Regions from separate parts of the Homo sapiens genome. Here region 1 is linked to region 2. The links are contacts of gene promoters, found by promoter capture Hi-C in blood cells and fetal thymus (Javierre and others, 2016). All regions are on one chromosome and are shown on one strand. Each heading gives the region's core, a stretch centred on a gene start or on the middle of the fragment in contact. The rest is flanking DNA. Distances are from core to core; before and after follow the strand shown. Region 1 holds the start of RUVBL1-AS1 (RUVBL1 antisense RNA 1). Region 2 holds the start of HMCES (5-hydroxymethylcytosine binding, ES cell specific).

Region 1 (4,852 bases), core at 1,825-4,324, 1.2 Mb before region 2:
AGGGAAGCAGTAGGCCATCTCTCGTGCCTCAGGTATTCGTTTGCACCTGTGGCCGTGGCCCCTCTTGCCTGAGAGCAAACGGAGCCCACATTCCAGCAGCCACGCACGCTTCAAGATGGCAGGCCCTGGTGTCTCTCCACCTGGCTCCTCCCCATGCACAGGGAACTAATGCACAGTGATGGGGGGGTAAGGCTTACTCTGCTTTTTCCCTTGGGGCAGGCACTGTCCCAGCCACTTCCTACATGTGCTCTCACTTCACCCCACTAGAGGCCCAGGAGGAAACAAGTCCGTCCATTTTACAGGTGAAGAAACTGAGGCCCAGGGAAATAGAGTGTGGCCAAAAGTCACTTAGCTCCCGAGCCAGGACAAAAAGCCTAAGGCTCACTTCCTACTCCAAGTCCCTGTCTGGCTGCTGGTCCTGCCTGCAGGTACTTCTGCTAGGGACGTAGCTGGGGCAAGGAATGAGGAGTCTAGGGAAACAGGCCCCACCCCCGGAGCTTCCCCTTGCTGCCCTTGGCTCAGGGGCAGCACCCGCTTCAACTGGCACTCCGCTCCATCCATGGTGCTGCTTTACCACTGCCTCCCTGGACCTGCTGATGCCCTACCCCATACCCCGCCCCCAGCCTGCTCCTGCTGAAGCCAGGCCAGCATGAAGTCCTCAGGAAGGCTGGGATGAGCCTCCCATCTCATTTCTGAGGGGTCTGAGCCCCATGGCCTGGGGAAGAGCAACGGATTCCTGATGAGGGCCAGGGGATGGGCATGTGGCACTGTCCGAGAGTCAGCAAAAGCCCCAACCTGAGCTTCAGCACCTACCAATGCCTGGTTCTGGAGAGCCAGGTGTGCCCCTAAGTGGTAGTGCCCACCTCACTCCCCTGCCCCAATCCCTTCTAGGGCCACATTACCCACTCCTTTCCACTCAGCAAACATTATTGAGCCTCATGGGGAAATGGAACAGAAGGTGCCTCTCCTCTTAAAAGCTCATGCCCCAGCAGTAAGGGTTCTGCAGTGTCTGTCAAACCTGTGGGCCTTGTTCCCTCTGCTGTCTGCCTGACAAGCTCCTGTTCATCCTTCAAAGCACAGCTCAATAAGGCTAGAAACATCTAAATGCCCATCGGAGGGGGCTGAATAAATTACAGCAGCTCCTCCCTGTGGAAAGGAACTAGGAGGACATTCTTTATATGTTGAGTTAGAAGAATCTCCAAGATATGCTGTCAAGGAAGAATACAGAAAGCAAGAAACAATAGCGTATGCTACCATTTGTGTTTAAAAGGGGGGTAGGAAGTGACTAATAGACTACATCAGGAAAAGGTGTAGCAATTTCCCATAAAACTAGACATACACTTACCCTACACCCAGCTATTCTACTCCTGGGTATTGAAACCCAAGATGAAAATATATGCCTATACAAAGACTTGTACAAGAATGTTCATAATAGCTGAAAAATAGGGAACAGCCTAGGTGGCCATCAACAGGCAAATGGATACATGTGGTGGATCCACAGGGTGGCATTTTACCCAGCAATAAAAAATAAACTATCCATACACACAACATTCAGGAGCTCAAAAGCTAAGTGAAAGAAACAAGTCATGTTGTATGATGCCATTTACATGAAATTCTAGAGCAGGAAAACCTAATCTATTGCAAAAAAAAAAAAAATTCTAACAGTGGTTGCCTCTAGTGTGTTAGAGATTGGCACAAGGAACTTTCTGGGCAATAGTAATATCCTTCACTGGGATTTGGGTTTCATTAGTCAGAACTCATGGAGTGCTCCACTTAGGATTTGTACATTTCACTGTATTTTTAACGTTTAAAAATAACCATAAGCAGCCGGGCACAGTGGCTCATGCCTGTAATTCTGGCACTGTGGGAGGCCAAAGCAGGTGGATCACCTGAGGTCAGGAGTTCAAGACCAGCCTGACCAACATGGAGAAACCCCATCTCTACTAAAAACACAAAATTAGCTGGGTGTGGTGGCATGCGCTTATAATCCCAGCTACTTGGGAGGCTGAGGCAGGAGAATCACTTGAACCCGGGAGGCGGTGGTTGCAGTAAGCTGAGATGGCGCCATTGCATTCCAGCCTGGGCAACAGGAGCGAAACTCCGTCTCAAAAAAAAAAAAAAAAAAAAAAACTTAAAAAACCATAATCAAGTACTGAACTCTAGATAATTATACACATGCTTAACTATTTACAGAGGTTGTTGTATCTGCAACTCACTTTGAAATGCACAGAAGACTGACAAGACTGACTGGCAGGCAGACAGGGGGATGGGCAGTGCAGTGCCTAGATGACAGGGATATGGGGGCTCACCTGCAATCCTTTTTTTTTATTCCCCCAAAGGGGGTGCACTATTCCTGGAGGTACTGCAATACCAGGTGGATGCATGGAGTGGAAAGAGCAAGGTCCTATTCCATCTCCCTGCTCCAAAAATCCATTTAACATACTGTCCTCAGATAGCAGATATTAAAGTGATAAGAACACTACACTTGATCTTAGCCAAAGGCTGAGAGGCGATTGCCTGTAATTCTTGCAGTTTTCCATGTGATATGTTTCATAATGAGTGTTGGGAAGGTCCTGTGAGTGTGTGCTGCCTCACCCAGGTCCTGGCCATCTCTAGAGGAACACACCGGTGTAAGGCAGGCGCTTCCGGAAAGGGAACAGGAGGCAGGGGGCAGGTGTCGAGGTAGGTTTTCACGGTACACGCCTTTGGCAATTTTGCATCAAAAAACTAAGTGTATGCACATTTTTTTTAATTGAAAGCCCAACTCAGCCTTCCCCCACTGCTCCTTCCCCGCATGCACGGGGGGACACACGCCTTCCTCCCTGCCTGCCGGGACTTCAACCTCGCTTGCTGGGAAGTCGCGCACTTTCGTCGCGACTTCCCAAGTCGTGCTGGGTGTGACTTGGAATCTCGGATCCCTGGGCTAGGCCTGGCCACGCCCCCATGGGGGGAGGGGCAGCGCGGCGGGGGCGGAGCCTGGGCCCGAAACGCCACGGGCGCGACTCTGTGCGCGTCCGCCCACACGGGGGCGCTGTGTCCTCGCAAGCTCCCGCGGGGTGCCTCGCGGCCCTGGAACGCTGTGGTTTTCGAGGGGAAAAGTGAGAGTGGCTGGTCCTGCCTCCGCTGCCGCTTGGCCCTGAGATCCCCACTGCCCACGGGATAGGCCCCAGTCCACCCAGCCGGGGCCCCCCCCTTCCCCTCGTCTCGCTCTCCTTGGCAGTTCGGACTTCGGGTCAGTCCCACACTCGCGCCCGGCTGTCCCTGCTGCGCTCCTGTCACTGGCATTGGGAAGCCCTCCGGCCCCCTCTCTGCACACCTGGCACACGGCTCCTCCCTGGCGGCATGTGGGTATTTGGGTTGGGCGAGCCTCTCCCTCCCGATTCCCGAGTTCCGAGTGGGTCCCGGCGGACCAGCGCTATTCTGGAGGGGCAGTGCCTCAGAGGCAGGTCGCTTCGAGTGGGGATTTGTGCGCTCTGGCGCGGAGGAGGGGGGTGGGAAGCCGGCTCTTGCCCTCCTCACCCGGTGGGGAGCGAGCAGGGCCAACGGTGCGCTGAGAGCGCTCAGGGCGTCCCCAACAGCATGACCCGACCCAGGGACGAAGCTCTGGGGGACGGGACCACTTGCGATGACAGCTAAAGGAGCACAGGGGGGCGGCCGGCATGGAGAGGCGGGGCCGGCATTCCTGCGGGCCTGCCGGGAGGGTGGGGAACCTGGGATTTAGCCATGGGACCTGTGGAAGGGTTTTGGGTCGGGGTCCTGACCGTCTAGTCTGGGTTCTCAAAGATGGTTGGGACAGTGGGCAGGCTTGCAAAGACCGAAGAGGCTGGTGGACCTGGTGGCTGAGGCCTAGGCCAGGCAGGGATCGCGGTGGGGAGGTCACAGTAGGTGTGGTCCCTCCTCCCCCCACCCCTCAGGCCTAAGTCACTCAGGCCCTTGTGTCACGGTGGCACCGGGACCTCCACCCACTACATACACACGCGCGCGCGCAGCCCCGTGAAAACCTGCGCCGTGTGCCCCAGACCTGCAGCCCGCATCCCGCCGTGTCCCCCGTTCCCTGCATGCGGCTCCAGTGTAAGTGCAGCGTGCCGTGTGCGGCGTCCCAGCCCGCACCCCGCACCCCACCATGTCCCTCTGGGTGCGGGGTCCGCATGCCCGCGCCCTCCCCGCAGCTGCCGGCGTCCCCATTAATCACGCGGCGCTGACGGCGCTGATCTGCGTGCTGGCGGCGTGACGGTGACGGTGACGGCGGGTGACGGAGCGGGCAATCGGCAGGCGCCCATCGGCCCATCTTATCGCGGCGGCCCAGCCGCCGCCCGCTGCGCGCCGCCCATTGATCGCGCCGGGCCCCTGCCCGGGGGTCAGCGCGGGCCGGGCCGGCCTGACAGCCGCATCCGTCGCCGAGACGCGCGCTGATGGCCGCCCAGCCCGCACGGCCTGGCCATTAATCACCGTGCCTGCCGCCAAGTGACGGGAGGGGCGGCAGGGCAGCAGGGGACGACAGGCAGCCCCCGTGGCCGGCCCACCCCTTCACAGTTCCGGGGCCCTGCTGCGTGGCCCGCCCTGCACCCTAAGCTCCCCAGCCCCCCTGCCCAGGCCTCCCTCACCCCCTATCCTCTTATGGCCTGCTCTCCCCAGAACAAATGGAAGGGGAGTGGCTGCATACTGGAGGAAGCAAGAAAGAGGAACTTCTGTGTGGAGAATGAATGGATGACCACGGATGAAGGGGGTGAACACTGTTCTACCTCCCGAGGGACCTCTTTCCCAGACACCAAATGAGAGCAGGTCTGACCTGACAAACACCAGCACTGGCTGGGACAAGGGGGTGGTCATTTCGCCCCCTCTGGCTGCCTCA
Region 2 (4,284 bases), core at 1,206-3,705:
TCTAAGAGAGAATGACCCCTTCCCTTTTTTAAAGGACAATACAATTATCATACCTAAAACAGTTAACAAAAGGAAATGGGATGATTTTTTTTGGCTGAGTGTTTATAAACAGGGTTGAAAGGAGGCTCTGCTTCAGTACCCTGCCTACAGCTGACAGTTTGTAGCCACATTGAAACAACCTAGTCCCCTGGGTCTTGCAGACACCTGCCCTGTGGTTTTCTCGTGGTGGGGCTGTCCCCTTCATTTGTGCTCTCAGATTCAGTCAACGTGCAAGAGCCTCTGTGACATGAGATATAAGCCTTTTATGTCCATCAGTTCATTTGAACTTAGCAGAAGCCTGAAATATGGTATTATCATCCCTGCCACTTTGTAGTTGAGGATACTGAAGTCCTGAGAGACAGTGACTTTCTTTTTTTTTTTTTTTTTTGAGACGGAGTCTAGCTCTGTCACCCAGGCTGGCATGCAGTGGCACAATCTCTGCTCGCTGCAACCTCCGCCTCCCGGGTTCAAGCGATTCTCCTGCTTCAGCCTCCCGAGTAGCTGGGATTACAGGCGTCCACCACCATGCCCAGCTAATTTTCGTATTTTTAGTAGAGATGGGGTTTCACTGTGTTGGCCAGGCTGGTCTCGAATTCCTGACCTCATGATCTGCCCACCTCAGCCTCCCAAAGTGCTGGAATTACAAGCGTGAGCCACCGCGCCTGGCTGAGAGACAGTGACTTTCACAGTGAAATCCCTCACTCAGGGATTTCAGCCCAGCTCTCCTGCCCGTTTCACTACACCAGAGCTGCCTTCATGGGTTGCTGCAAATGCCATCCTTAGCCTGCCCTGTACAGTCCCTTCTGCTGTATATATCTGTACTTCTCTCTTCCCTTCTAGGTGTGTTCCGGGGTGGTCATGACATCCTGGTGCGCTCCCGGCTGCTGCTTTTGGACACAGTGACAATGCAGGTGACAGCCAGAAGTTTGGAGGAGCTGCCAGTAGACATCATCTTGGCATCTGTGGGATAAGAGGCCAGCCTGCATAGGACCTCATACCCTTCCCCAACACTACCTGGAAGTTGTGCCTTCCTCATGAAACTGGCAGAAACCCCTTCCCAAGCTTCTGTATTGAAAAACAATTAGGAATCATTGCAGATTTTTTTTTATTCTGCTCCCACCTCCCACCCGGGACTACTTGCTGGTGACTTTTTTTTTTTTTTTTTTTAAATAGGGGATGATTTTAGCTTGTCCTAAATCTTGCTGTCCACCCTTCCAGGAAAGGGACATTGTAAATGAATAAAACATTCTCAACTCCTCTTGAATCTATCCCCCAAGAAACCATCTTATCCCTGTAATAAATCAGCATGTATTTATTGAATGATTGCTACTTCTGCAGACTCATGCTTCAGGGCTCCACCTTCCCCTTCAAGGCCTCCCCTAAAGAGGCAGAACACCTGCCCTGTCCCCCTTGCACCCACAGCCCTTTGGCTGTTGTAGTCCTGTGAGGCAGGACCCTCTCCCCGTCATCGCTGTCCCAGCACCAAGCCCAGGGGTGGGAGCGGTAGAGGGTGGTTGAGTGAATCAGCTAACAGGCAGAGTTCACACTCCCTCCCGTTCGTGCTTCTTCACAACGCATCCTCCTTTGATAGTCGATAAATGGAGGCTCCAAAGGGCTTGGGTCCTGTGTCTGATCGTTCCAGCATCTGGTCTTACATGGAGTGTGCCCTGGGGTTTCTGCTCCCTGTTCAGTTCAGCGAATCAGCATAGGCGAACAGCCCTCTAGAGCATTCTCTGTTGGTTGCAGATGAAGAATCTCCGGTTTAGGTCCCAAGGGGAGCAGGCTTTTAAACTCAAGCCAGGCTATTTTACCAACTTTGAGGCCAAAGTACACCCGAAAGGGCTGTTTTAAAAATCTGGGCCTCACCCTTAGAGATTCAGCTGAGGGGCTGGGGCAGGAAAGGCTTATTCTAGTGCCCACCAATGTTTGAGGGCGAAGTGCGCGATTCCTGGAAGTTCTTCTGACTTTCATTTCTTCAGTGTTCCTCCATTTTTGCCTCGCACTGTGAGGCAGCTGGCAGGACTGTGAAGTAAGGAGTGGAGTTTCCTGGTTTCCCGCCTTCCATGACCCTGTGCCCTAGACTCAGCGCGGCGGGAACCTTCCCTGCCAGCCCTGAAACACGCTGGGGGCGGGGAGGAAGGTTAACCCCGCCAGGGAACGGCCAATATGGAGGAAAGTGGAGTCCCGAGAAGCTTGGGATCGATATGTCTCCCAAGGCAGTCACTGTCTCCTGGGGAAACGGGAGAAAATTCATCCCAAACCGGAGGGGAGAAGACGCCGCCTCCGGGGCCCGAGGGCACCGCGGGAACCAAGGGCCCTTGGGGGCGGGGCCTGGCGCCGGGAGCGCGGGCTGAGGCGGGGCTGACGTGAGGGGCGGTGACGCGGGTGGCCAAAGCGGAGCGGAGCGGGGGTGAGGAGAGTCGAGGGAGGTGACGCGCGCTGCCGGGGCGAGGTGAGGGGAGGGGAGGCGACGCGGGCGGTCGGGGTATGGCGAGGGGAGGGGAGGGGAAAGGAAGCGACGCGAGCTGACAGAGGGGAGCAGAGGCCCGAGCGGACGCGAGGCGACGCGGAGAGGGCGGCCTGGGCCGAAGTGAGGCGACGCGGGGCGGCGGAGTCTGAGGGCCGGAGCGGAGCGGAGGCGACGCGGGGAGGGGCGAGGGATCGCGGCCGGTGGCTGGGGGCCACCTGCTCCCCGAGCACCGGCCCCCGCTCCGGGGAGCAGAGTCCGGAGCGGGATCCGCGGCCCACAGGTTCGCAGGTCGGGCCCGGGGACGCTGCGGACTAGCGGGCGGGAGGCGGGGATTCTGCACCCCGGCCCCGGGCCGTCCAGTGGCCGCCCTCGAGGTGACCGGTTGCTGGCCGGCGTGGGTCGCTGACCCCAGCGGGGACTGGGGGGAAGGACGGGGAGTTGGGGGCACCAAGTCACCCGGAGGAGGCGACCCCAGCTAGCTGCGCTTGCCCTGCTTCGCTGGACTGTGAAGCCCCCTCCGCTGCGGCTCTTCCTGCGCTCAGGCAGGCATTTGCAGAGCTCCTCTCGGGACTTGCCTCAGTGCCCTGCACGGAGCTGGGCAGTGGGCTCAGGGAGCGAAGCAAACGGGCACATCCTTGTCTTTGTGGGACTTTTTGGGGAAGACTTTAGACGGTGGTCACGGAGGGGCACGGCCCTGTGGGAACGGAAAGAGAAGGCGGGGACTCAAGGAATAAGACCTAATATTTGAGATACGTAAGCCTTTTCCTTACGTTTTGTAATTTAAAGGTTGCGAGGGGCGGTGTTGAAGAATGTGTGGGCGAACATCCTGTCACTTACCTAGAGATGTTCTCACGAGAGCTTGCGCCTACCAGGATCGGCGGGGCCAGCAGCGGCTCCCGGAGTGGAGGGACCCTGATAAGTACTGCCCCTCTTACAACAAGAGTCCTCAATCCAACAGCCCAGTGCTTCTGTCTCGACTGCACTTTGAGAAGGTAACCAGCATTGCACTATGCTAGCCCCTCGCCCAGCCTCGTGATGGTCATCTCCTATTTGGTTTGGTGTGTGCTCAGCCTCTTGGGATGACATTAAAAACCAGCCTTTACTGATATATTCTGACTTCCAGTTGAGAACCTCTCTTGGCCTCATGAAAGAAGTTTTATCAGTGGCTTCTAACACTGATAAAGACGTATTTTTCAGGCTCAATTTAAATGCCTTTGCTATACATGGCATACTAGCCTTAATATATGCCAAATTTATATGAGCTTTGTGTTTTAAAATAGCAGCTTTCACTGATCATCAGGGTCATTGGAGTATCTTAAAAATATAATAAAAAAATTTAAGGCCAGGTGCCATGGCTCATGCCTGTAACCCCAGCACTTTGGGAAGCCGAGGTGGGAGGATCACTTGAGCCTAGGAGTTGGAGACCAGCCTGGGCAACATAGGGAGACCCCATCTCTACAAAAAATAAAAAAATGAGGTGGGAAGATCACTTGAGCTGGGGAGGTCGAGGCTTCATGAGCCATGGTTGTACCACTGCACTCCCACCTGGGTGACAGATCAAGACCCTGCCTAAAGAAAAAATTTAAAAAAATAAAAAATTTAAGAATATTTCTATGCCCTTTACCAGGCCAGCTTAATCAGACTTCTCTAGGCCTAGGACAGGCTTAAGATCAGTTAATTTAAAACACTTCTGATGTTTCTTGAGCATTGAAAAGTTTTATTCTTTCTGCTTGTGTTTTCAATCTTTTTGTGTTTGTCTTTTACTAAGGCTAGAA

What was found. The method cuts DNA at HindIII sites, captures the fragments that hold promoters and counts their contacts. A CHiCAGO score of 5 or more calls a contact.
Region 1: the fragment with the promoter of RUVBL1-AS1 here is called in contact with the fragment with the promoter of HMCES in region 2 in 2 of 17 cell types (neutrophils and naive CD8 T cells); the score reaches 6.1 in neutrophils.

What each region holds. Positions count from the first base shown.
Region 1 is chr3:128,072,736-128,077,587 of GRCh38, forward strand. RUVBL1-AS1 (RUVBL1 antisense RNA 1) reads left to right here and starts at 3,075. Exons shown (of 2, transcript NR_046645.1): 1 at 3,075-3,344. It also overlaps a transcript of RUVBL1 not described here and the pseudogene RNU2-37P. RefSeq lists silencers at 2,732-2,781, 2,792-3,231, 4,573-4,672. The HindIII fragment of the contact is 15,687 bases long and covers 1-4,852 here.
Region 2 is chr3:129,276,415-129,280,698 of GRCh38, forward strand. HMCES (5-hydroxymethylcytosine binding, ES cell specific) reads left to right here and starts at 2,456. Exons shown (of 7, transcript NM_020187.3): 1 at 2,456-2,491; 2 at 3,296-3,501. The coding sequence starts at 3,319. It overlaps COPG1 (coat protein complex I subunit gamma 1), which reads left to right. Exons shown (of 24, transcript NM_016128.4): 24 at 880-1,359. The coding sequence ends at 1,010. RefSeq lists silencers at 2,311-2,660, 2,671-3,060 and an enhancer at 3,481-3,610. The HindIII fragment of the contact is 5,702 bases long and covers 2,230-4,284 here.